Linked DNA regions of Homo sapiens: region 2 is linked to region 1. The links are contacts of gene promoters, found by promoter capture Hi-C in blood cells and fetal thymus (Javierre and others, 2016). All regions are on one chromosome and are shown on one strand. Each heading gives the region's core, a stretch centred on a gene start or on the middle of the fragment in contact. The rest is flanking DNA. Distances are from core to core; before and after follow the strand shown. Region 1 holds the start of EPRS1 (glutamyl-prolyl-tRNA synthetase 1). Region 2 holds the start of HEATR1 (HEAT repeat containing 1).

What was found. The method cuts DNA at HindIII sites, captures the fragments that hold promoters and counts their contacts. A CHiCAGO score of 5 or more calls a contact.
Region 2: the fragment with the promoter of HEATR1 here is called in contact with the fragment with the promoter of EPRS1 in region 1 in 3 of 17 cell types (naive CD4 T cells, total CD4 T cells and non-activated CD4 T cells); the score reaches 12.3 in naive CD4 T cells.

Annotation. Positions count from the first base shown.
Region 1 is chr1:220,044,221-220,049,776 of GRCh38, reverse strand. EPRS1 (glutamyl-prolyl-tRNA synthetase 1) reads left to right here and starts at 3,272. Exons shown (of 32, transcript NM_004446.3): 1 at 3,272-3,434. The coding sequence starts at 3,389. RefSeq lists enhancers at 3,061-3,130, 3,191-3,520, 3,562-4,119. The HindIII fragment of the contact is 10,455 bases long and covers 1-5,556 here.
Region 2 is chr1:236,600,989-236,606,544 of GRCh38, reverse strand. It overlaps HEATR1 (HEAT repeat containing 1), which reads left to right and starts at 2,029. Exons shown (of 45, transcript NM_018072.6): 1 at 2,029-2,123; 2 at 2,418-2,591; 3 at 3,169-3,385. The coding sequence starts at 2,450. RefSeq lists an enhancer at 1,829-2,088. The HindIII fragment of the contact is 2,349 bases long and covers 1,972-4,320 here.

The DNA of each region.
Region 1 (5,556 bases), core at 2,023-4,522:
GCCTAGCCAACATGATGAAACCCCATCTCTGCTAAAAATACAAAAATTAGCTGGGCGTGGTGGCAGGTGCCTGTAATCCCAGCTACTTTGGAGGCTGAGGCAGGAGAATCACTTGAACCCAGGTGTCGGAGGCTACAGTGAGCCAATATCATGCCGTTGCACTCTAGCCTGGGCAACGAGAGCGAAACTCTGTCTCAAAAAGAAAAAAAAAAACCCTGTTAACCTAAGAATATATAAGAAACCAGCGGCAAACACTATTCTTTTTTTATTTTTATTTTCAGGGAAAGGGTCTTGTTCTGTCATCCAGGCTATAGTGCGGTGGCGCGATCATAGCTCACTGTACCTTCAAACTCCTGGTCTCAGGTGATCCTCCCATCTGGGCCTGCCAAAGTGCTGACATTACCAGCAAGAGCCATTGCAGCCAACCTAGCAGACACTATTCTTTTTTTTTTTTTTTTGAGACAAAGTTTTGCTCTTATTGCCCAGGCTGGAGTGCAATGGTGCCATCTAGGCTCACTGCAACCTCTGCCTCCTGGGTTCCAGTGATTCTCCTGCCTCAGACTGCCAAGTAGCTGGGACTACAGGCATGCACCACTACTCCAGGCTAATTTTGTATTTTTAGTAAAATGACGCGGTTTCACCATATTCACCAGGCTAGTCTCGAACTCCGGACCTCAGGTGTTCTGCCTACCTCAGCCTCCCAAAGTGTTGGGATTACAGGTATGAGCCATTACACCTGGCTTACAGACACTATTCTTTAACATTTTTTTTTTTGAGACGGACTTTTTGCTCTTGTTGCCCCGGGCTGGAGTACAGTGGCATGATCTCTGCTCACTGCAACCTCCAGCTCCCAGGTTCATGCGATTCTCCTGCCTCAGCCTCCTGAGTAGCTGGGATTACAGGCATGCACCACCACGCCCAGCTAATTTTGTATTTTTAGTAGAGACAGGGTTTCACCATGTTGATCAGGCTGGTCTCGAAGTCCTCTACTTAGGTGATCCACCCACCTCGGCCTCCCAAGTGCTGGGATTACGGGTGCGAGCCACCGTGCCCGGCCACAGACACTATTCTTGATAATGCAACATTAGCGGCATTCCCACTAAAGTCAGGAACAAAGCAAATACTCTCTTATTCGACACTATTATTGCTCCCATTTAACATCATTCTGGAAGTTCTAGCCAATGAAAGAGATAAGATATAGGTCATGTAAATTTTGGATAGGAAGAAAATGATATTTACCTAGAAAATCCAACATAACTAAAAAATGATTGGAACTAGTAAAAGCATCCAACAAGATGGTAACTCTAAGACCTAAGACTTTCTGCTATAAGTCCCACTATCCTGAAAGTAGGCTTCTTTTTTTTTTTTTTTTTTTTTATTGAGATGAAGTTTTGCTCCTGTTACCCAGGCTGGAGTGCAATGGCGTGATGTCAGCTCACCGAAACCTCTGCCTCCCAGGTTCAAGCGATTCTCTGGCGTCAGCCTCCCGAGTAGCTGGGATTACAGGCATGCACCACCACACCCAGCTATTTTTTTGTATTTTTACTAGAGATGGGGTTTCTCCATGTTGGCTTGGCTGGTCTCAAACTCTCGACCTTAGGTGATCCGCCCGCCTCAGCTTCCCAAAGTGCTGGGATTACAGGCATGAGCCACCGCGCCTGGCCTCAAGTCTCATGGGAGATGTAATCTAAGGGGCCCTCCCTAATGAAAACAAGGATGTCTTGGGGAGGTTAAGAAAAAGTGTAGGCGAGGATGTGGTTGAGATGGTTCTTGGAATCCATCCCGGGTCCCCGTACTTTAACACCAGCCCTTGAAATATGGGTGCAGCTCACACACACGAATGTGTGTATACACCTTGGAGTATCTCTGGAGCTCATGCATGCACGTCCGTCACAAAGGATTTGAAAGGGAGAATCAGATGAGACGCTGAAAAAAACACCTGTGGACTCCATGATTGGGGGCGGCATCGGAGGGTTTTTTTGTTTTGTTTTTTAGATCAGGTCTCTCCCTGTGTCGGCCAGGCTGGAGGGTAGTGGCTACTCACAGGCAAGTCCACGGCGAGGCCACTACAGCCTCATCTTCCTGGGCTCAGGCGATCCTGCCTCAGCCTTCTTAATAGCTGAGACTACAGGAGCGCGCCACTGCGCCTATCTGCAGTGATTTTTTGTTTGTTTTGAAACGGGGTCTCAGTCTGTCGCCCAGGCTGGAGTGCAGTGCCGCGATCTCGGCTCACCGCAACCTCCTCCTCCCGGGTTCAAGCGATTCTCCTGCCTCAGCTCCCCAAGTAGCTAGGATTAAAGGTGCGCGCTACCATTCCCGGCTAATTTTTGTACTTTTAGTAGAGACCCCCGTCTCTACAGTTTCACCATGTTGGTGAAGCTGGTCTCCAACTCCTGACCTCGAGATCCGCTCGCCTCCGGCCTCCCAAAGTGCTGGGATTACAGGCCTGAGCCACCGCGCCCGGCCTCTGCTGTGATTTTTTTTTTTTTTCTTTTCGAGAAGGAGTCTCACTCTGTCGCCCAGGCTGGATGCAGTAGCACGATCTCGGCTCACTGCAACCTCCACCTCCCAGGTTCAAGCGATTCTCCTGCCTCAGCCTCCCAAGTAGCTGGGATTACAGGGGCCCACCACCATGCCAGGCTAATTTTTGTATTTTTAGTAGAGATGGGGTTTCACCATGCTGGCCAGACTGGTCTCGAACTCCTGACCTCAGGTGATCCGCCCGCCTACACCTTCTAAAGTGCTGAGATTACAGGCGTGAGCCACCACGCCCGGCCTGCAGTGATTTTTAAAGAGTCTTTTATATTTCCTTTAACCATTATTTTCAACACGCAAATAACTCTTGAAAATACGTTCTTGTTTTGGAAAAAAAAAAACGGGGGGGAATGTATAAAATAAACAACGAGAAAAACTTCTCCCATTCCCAACGTAATCATGGCTATCGTGTGTATGCTTCCAGGACTTTTCTTTTTACATAAAGACAGTGCATGCTTTTGTTTCGTGCTTCACATAAACGCCTATCCCATCTTAAAGATGGTTTTACAACCTGCTGTTTTACGACCTGCTGACTTGACGAAGTGTCGTAAAGTCCCGTCCACTTCAGCGTCTTTCCCACCGCAGCACGAAAGGCCACGCAGGCCGTTCTAACCCTGGCGGCCAAGAGGAGGGGTAGCAGGCTCTGGAACCTGCGGGCGGGGACGAAGACGGCGCGCGACGATGTCGCACCGCGGCGTGCGCGGTGTCGGCAGTAGCTGCGGCGCAGGGGCGGAGCGAAGGCTGCGGCGGCGTCGGGTACGCGCACACGTTGCATCTTCTTCCTTTCGCGGGGTCCTCCGTAGTTCTGGCACGAGCCAGGCGTACTGACAGGTGGACCAGCGGACTGGTGGAGATGGCGACGCTCTCTCTGACCGTGAATTCAGGAGACCCTCCGCTAGGTAAGGGGCCGAGACCAATGACCTGTGTGGGTTGCATCAGCCAGGGAGGGTGCAGGGCGTGGAAGGTCGCTGCGCCCCGGCTTTGCGCAGTGGTGGTCACCATCTGGGATGTTGGACCTGCCCCTCGCCCCAGAATTGTACGTGGAGGAGGCTCCGCACCCCTCGCCCCGTGTCCCCGGCAGGTGCATCTGCTCCTGAAGATGGTTTTCCCGGGCATGGAGGGAGGCGCAGTGTGAGCCCGGGCTAGACAACACGAGACTCCGCTTCGGATCTTTTTCTCAGAGGGATGAACTCCCAGTCAACTCACCTCTCCCTTTTTCCCCCGGAGAGCGAGAGTTGCTCGTGGAAATAAGATTTTAAAACTTAAAATCCAATAGTCGTCGCTTCTCTTTTAGCATTTTTCCCCCAACTCCTTTTCTTACCTCCTTTCCTGTCCTGTCCCTCCTCTCAGGAGAAATCCTCAGTTCACTTGAGTCAAATTTTCCTTACGTTTTATCGAGTTCAGAAGAAATAACCCAGACGAGCATATTAGCATTTAGGATTTCAACTGAGGCTGCATTTATTTTTAATTAAATGTGGTAGGGTAATTGGGGAAAACACCCAGGTACACTGTAGACTGATGCGGTTGCTTTTACTGCACCCTGTGGATGTGTAGTAAATTTCAGAGTAAACATTGGATCTGTCACCTTACTGACACATCTTAAGTTCTGTTTGGAATTATTTTTTCGACATGACCAAGATTATTGTTGGTAGATTGCTTAGAATTTCTGCTTTTTCATTACTTTGGGAAATTACACAGAAGAATTTAAGTAGTTTGCCGATTTTTTTTTTTCTTTTGAGAGTCAGGGTCTTGCTCTATCGTCCAGGCTGGAGTGCAGTGGCGCTTTCAAGGCTCACTGCAGCATCGAACTTCCGGGCTCAGATGATCCTCCCACCTCAGCCTCCTTAGTAGCTGGGACTACAGGCGCGTGCCACCATGCCTGGCTAATTTTGTGTTTGTGTCTTTTTTGGAAAGATGGCGTTTCACTGTGTTGCCCAGGCAGGTCTCAAACTCCTGGGCTCAAGCCATCCTGACTTGGCCTCCCAAAGTACTAGGATTACAGGCGTGAGCCACAGTACCCAGCCTGACCTAATATTTGTTAATGCATATGTATGATAATACACACACAGTACTTTCTAATGTTGAAGAAGCCCATACCTTTATATACAGTTGACCACGTGGGGCTGATGAAATTATTCATTATATTCTCAACTTTGGTGATGTTTTAAGGTTGTTGAACAAAAACACAACTTAATAGCCATTTTAAACATTTAAAAGATGGTAATGTTTTGGCATATTGGTTGCAGTAATGGACTAACCGCACAACAAATCAATGAACTCTAAAAGGAATGGGTTTGATTCCTGAGCTGGAAAGGCATTAGAGTGCCTTCATGATTGAGAGCAAAGACATTTGGTTTCTGCAGACCTGAGTCCAATCCTGGCTGCCACTTACTAGTTGTGAAACCTTGACAAGTTCCTTATTTAGCTTCTCCCATAGTTTCCTTGTTTTAAGAAAGGGAGAATAATGTCTTCCAGATAGGATTGGTTGCCAGAGTTAAGTGAGACTATAGTTAAAGCTCCTGATACTGTTTTTTTTTTTTTTTTTTTTTTTTTTTTTTTTGGAGACCGAGCTCATTGCAACCTCTGCCTCCCAGGATCAAGCAATTCTTGTTCTCAGCCACACGAGTAGTTGCGCTTAGAGGTGCGCACCACCATGCCCGCCTAATTTTTGTATTTTTTAGTAGACACAGCATTTTGCCATGTTGGCCAGGCTGGTCTCAAACTCCTGACCTCAAGCAGTCCGCCCGCCTTGGCCTCCCAAAGTGCCAGGACCACAGGTGTGAGCCACCATGCCCAGCCTCCTGATACATTTTTTGTTACTTAGAAAATCACCCTGAAGGTGGCCTGTTTCTGTAGTGTATTACAGAACTCAGAATTCTGCCAGTATTCTGTGAAACTCTTGTCATTTTGAACTGTATGCCAGTTATCAAATATATCATTTTTCTAATTGCTCCTCTCCCTTTTTAATTTTTGATTTAATTATTCCCAGTTTAATTCAATTACATTTTATCTTTAAGTAAT
Region 2 (5,556 bases), core at 780-3,279, about 17 Mb before region 1:
TGGGCTTTATGCCAACGTGCTGAAGCCAATATTATAGTGAGGGAATACAAGAAATAAACAGGTAAACAAACAGACAAATCAGGTCATTTCAAGTAGTGATAATGGCTATGAAGAAAATACCAGCTTGGTACATCTGTCCGTCAGATAAAAATATATAATTCAAGATTATTACATTTTTTTTAAAACCAAAGCTTTTTTTTAAAAAAAAATTACATTTATGAACATCTGACTTGTTTTCCTTTTTACTTTCCAAAGTAAAATTCGGCATGGCACTATACACCATCACAGCTGACATAGGAAGGACTGAGTCAAATCTTTGTAGCACTTTTTCAAGTTTCACTTAAATAAAGCTTTTAAAAAATATATAGGGTATTTTTTAAGCAAAAAAAGCAAATTATCTTATCAATGAAACAGACCTGGTGTTCATTTCTTTTAAAGTACCGAAAGCTGATTGCTTCTGTAAAGGTAAAACTCCTGTGACATGTTAGAAAGAAAAAAAAAATTCCTTTGAGAGATATGTTTGTAAGAATGAAATAGGTACTACTAGAATTTTCATGTTATTCTCTGCAAGGCACTCAACACCACATGAAAAGAAGATTATTAACAGTCAGTAGAAATACTAATAACTGAAGAAAATATTTGGTTGTTTTAAATGCTTTTAAAGCAAACCAACAACAAAAGATTCTGTTTGTAAATGGGAGAGAATCTGCATGAGGTATAGACAACCAGGGCCTCCAAATTTGTAGCTGTGTTTCTGACATTCTCCAGGGAAGACGGTTACAGAAAGACTTGACCCCCTGGCCCCGCAGAGCTCTTCAGAGAAATTAATGCATCCAGAAAAGACAGAGCATCAGATCTCACTCCTTCGTCTGGAAGACGTCAGTTCATCCTAGTTCTAGCGCATACCGGTGTTTTGGAAACAGATTAGCTATATTCATACATAAGGATACTCTTCCGCAACACTATCTGTAGTGAGGCCAAGACCAGTGGTTGCGGGAATCTTCGCAAACAGGCAAGAGACAATTTTTAGGGGCGATGGAAACTGTCATTTTGACTGGGGAGGTCATTACACCTATACATGCATTTGCTAAAAGTCATCAAACTCTTCCACTGACGTGGGTGTAACCATTGTTTGTAAATTATACCTCAACAGGATTCGATTAATTTATTTATTGAGACAGTCTCGCTCTGTGGAGTGCAGTGGTGCAATCTTGGCCCACTGCAACCTCCGACTCCCGGGTTCCAGCGATTCTTCTGTCTCAGCTTTCCTAGTAGCTGGGATTACAGGCGCCCGCCACCACGTCCGGCTAATTCTTTTATTTTTAGTAGAGACGGGGTTTCGCTATGTTGGCCAGGCTGGTCCCGAACTCCTGACCTCAGGTGATCAGCTCGCCTGAGCTTCCCAAAGTGCTCGGATTACAGGCCGCGCCTGACTATGATTCGTTTTGAAAGAAAAAAATATATGCCATTTACCCCTCGGGAATGGAAACATAGAGGAGTGACAAGATCTCCCCCAAGCTCTGGGGCGGTGGAGTCCAGCATTTATAGATCGGTTTGCACTAGGAGCAGAAGCTCCTTTCACGACAATCTCGGCCTCTTCCCACTTTGTAGAGTGAGTAACAAGCTCGGAGAGATGAAATAATTTGGTGGCGTTAACCCGGCCGACAGGCGCCAGCGCCAGGATTTGAACCCAAACCACGTGACTTCACAACCCATAGCTTTCAACACTACGCGGTGCTGCTGGCACCTAGTAAAGGCTGGATCACTACTGAATGAATGATTCTGGCTACGGATCCTTAAAGCCCACAGAAGGCCCATCCAGAGACCGAAAGCTTCAGACACAAGCCGCAGAGCAGACCGCTAAACCGGAGCTACAGAGGCGAAGCTCAGACTTGAGCCTGAGTCCGGCGGGCTGAGGGGCGGGCTTTCGTCTCGGGAGGCGGAGCTGTCTCGTCGCATTCCCGGCAAGCTTGAACCTCTTCACTTGCCGTAGCGCCTGCAGCAGGAAGTTGCTCTACAGCATGCCTTAGGTTTCCGGGTGAGGGTTGGGCTCCTTGGTACCATGTGGGAAGCGCTGTGAAGAGTTGTTGCCTTCCAAGATATACCCAAATTCCCAGTTCCAGGTAAGCGGCACAGAGCCGCTTGATGTGGCTGCGGATGGGGGCGGCATATCGAGGGAGGGTAAGAGTTTTCCGGATATCTGCGGAATCAGGGTTGAAGGAAAGCCTTGGCGCGGTCGCCGCTACTGTAATTAGTTGTTAACGCTGCTGCCATCGTCTTTGCATCTCCGGGGTCCACAAATCTCAGGACACCCGCGTTGTGTGTCCATGACGGTGCTGAGTGCAGAAGAGAATTGTTTGTTTACGAGGCGCCTTATAATTTCGTAGAAACTTATCAAAGTGCTTACGTTTTTTTAGCCCGTGTCATTAAAACTCCGCTGGCGTGAAAGATGACGTCCTTAGCCCAGCAGCTGCAACGACTCGCCCTCCCTCAAAGTGATGCCAGCCTCTTATCTAGAGATGAAGTTGCTTCTTTGTTATTTGACCCTAAGGAAGCGGCCACAATCGACAGGGACACCGCCTTCGCCATTGGTGAGCCATCTTTTAACTTAGAAAAGCTCTTGGAAGCGTTTGTTTTCTGGATGTTACTGTTTTTTTTTTTTCCCCTTGTTTTCTCTTCTGTCCCGTCCTCTTCCTTAGCAGTTTCTAGCATGTTGATGTATATTTTTAAGGGAAAGAGAACATAACAGTCAGGTGCTTGGTGCTTGAAATGTTTATGAGTAGAGGTATCTGGATTTCACAGATGAAGAAACAAAATTAGAGAGGTCAACTAATATGTCAAAGAGAAGAACAGCTAAAAGGGGGATGGAGGCAGTGACTGGGGTGACGGAGAAGTCCTCTCAGAGGACTGGCCTAGTTATTGTAGGGGATATCCAAAAAAAAAAAAAAAAAAGTGTTCCCTGCCACGAAGTACTTTCTGTTCTAGTAGATGAGATAGGATTTACTCTAAAAGTTGAAAACTAGAAATCAGTGTTTGGGACTGTATTATAAATTATATGTACTTAAAGAATTCAGAAACTTCTTAGGGGTAAGTAAAACTGTAAAAGAGGGGTGGGATGAATTTGCTTACGAAGAATTGTTAAATAAACTGGCCTTTTTTGAAATTTAGGATGTACTGGCCTGGAAGAGTTGCTTGGAATTGATCCTTCCTTTGAGCAGTTTGAAGCACCGTTGTTCAGTCAGCTAGCAAAAACCTTGGAGCGAAGTGTTCAGACCAAAGCAGTAAACAAACAGTTGGATGAAAACATTTCATTATTCCTTATTCACTTGTCGCCTTACTTCCTGCTTAAGCCAGCACAGAAGTGTCTGGAGTGGTTGATTCACAGGTAGCTAATAGAATTACAGAAATAACTATGGGTTAATCACTTTGGTCTTGTAAAAAATTAAGTAGTTGAGAACTTATCAAATTAAAGCTGAAAAATTAGGTATATTAAGAGATTGATACAATGTCCATTGTGTGAGATAAGCATGCTCTTCTGCCTTTAAATTCTTTTTTGTTGATAGTGAAAAGTAGAACTACTGGTGATTTTGAGTAAATGGTCTAACCTCATTAGTTTTTTTTTGAGATAGAGTCTTGCTGGGCACTCAGGCTGGAGTGCAATATTGAAATCTTGGCTCACTGCAACCTCTGCCTCCCAGGTTCAAGTGATTCTCCCACCTCAGCCTCCCAAGTAGCTGGGATTACAGGCACCTGCCATAATGCCTGGATGAGTTTTGTGTTTTTGTAGAGATGGAGTTTCACCGTGTTAGCCAGGCTGGTCTTTAACCCCTGACCTCAGGTGATCCACCCGCCTCGGCCTCCCAAAATACTGGGATTACAGGTGTGAGCCACCTCGCCCAGCCTAACCTCGTTAGTTCTGAAGAGCCCATGCTACTTTGCCATTACAGCTTGTTCCTGCACACTTGAGGCAGTGAGTACTAAGCTGCTTTCTTGGCAAAATAACAAGATGGTTGGGGAAGCAGGCAATGTTATCCTCTGAAATACCATTGCTTGAGAAAAACAATGATAGCTAATGTGTTTTTGAGCATTTATACACTAGGCCCTGGTAAGCACTTTATCTGCATTATCTCATTTAATTCTCACAGCATTCCTCTGGTGAGATTATTTGTATTATCCTTGTTTTACAGTTGAGAAAACTGAGGCTTAGAGGGATTAAGTTTCTTGAGTCACACAGCTAGTAAGTGGCAGAGCTAGGATACAGCTGAAGTTTATTTCCAAGGTCTGATCTTTTATCTGCTTTGGGAATTGTCTCAGTAAGCTTAGTTTATTTTCTCACATATTGGTGTCACATCACAGCATACACATTTTTGTTTTATTTATTCTCCCAATATGTATGTCTTTTTTTTTTGAGACAGTCTCGCACTGTCGCCCAGGCTGGAGTGCAGTGGCACGATCTCATCTCACTGCAACCTCCACCTCCCAGGTTCAAGCAATTCTCCTGCCTCAGCCTCCCAAGTAGCTGGGATTACAGGCACATACCACTACGCCCAGTTAATTTTTTGTATTTTTTTTTTTTTAGTAAAGATGGGGTTTCATCACGTTGGCCAGGCTGGTCTCAAACTCCTGACCTCGTGATCCACTCGTCTTAGCCTCCCAAAGTGCTGGTGTGAGCCACCACAGCCACTGCACACGGCTGTCTTTTTATTTTTATTTTATTGAGTGTCAGGATTTCACTCACCCAGGCTGGAGTGCAGTGGTGTGATCGTGGCCCACTCGATCTCCAGGGCTCAAATGATCCTCCGATCTCAGCCACCCAAGTAGCTGGGATTACAGGCATGCACCACCATGCCCACCTAGTTTTTTTTTTGTTTGTTTGTTTTTGTTTTTGTTTTTCCATTTTTTGTAGAGACAGTGTCTCACTTTGTTGCCCAGGCTGGTCTGGAACTCCTGGCCTCAAGCGATCCTCCTGCCGAGTCGGCCTCCCAAAGTGCTGGGGTTACAGGCATGAGCCACCACATCCAGTCCAACTTACATGTTTTAAAAGTAGATTTCTATTCCATTAATTGGAGACATGGCTTCAAGGCCAGCCTGGCCAGCATGGTAAAACCTGTCTGTGTGAAAAATACAAAAATTAGCTGGGCGCAGTGGCGAGCACTTGTAATTCTAGCTACTTGGGAGGCTGAGGCAGGAGAATTGCTTGAATCCAGGAGACAGATTTTGCAGTGAGCTGAGATCACGCCACTGCACTCCAGCCTGGGTAACAGGGAGACGCCGTATCAAAAAAAAAAAACAAAAAATGGAGACGTGGGGATAAACTAATTTTTTTTCAAGAAGCAAGTGAGTCATCAAGAAAACATGATTTTAACTTGGGTCTTCTGATTGTCAGAACATTAGGGCAATCAGACAAAGAATATTTAAAAGTCTGTAATATTTCCATCTGTTTTCTAGCACCTAACTTTACCCCCAAATAGATCATTAATGTAAGGAATACTTTTTGCATTTGATTTTTCATTTTATGTCTTCAGATAACTTATTTATTCAGCAAATACTAAGTTC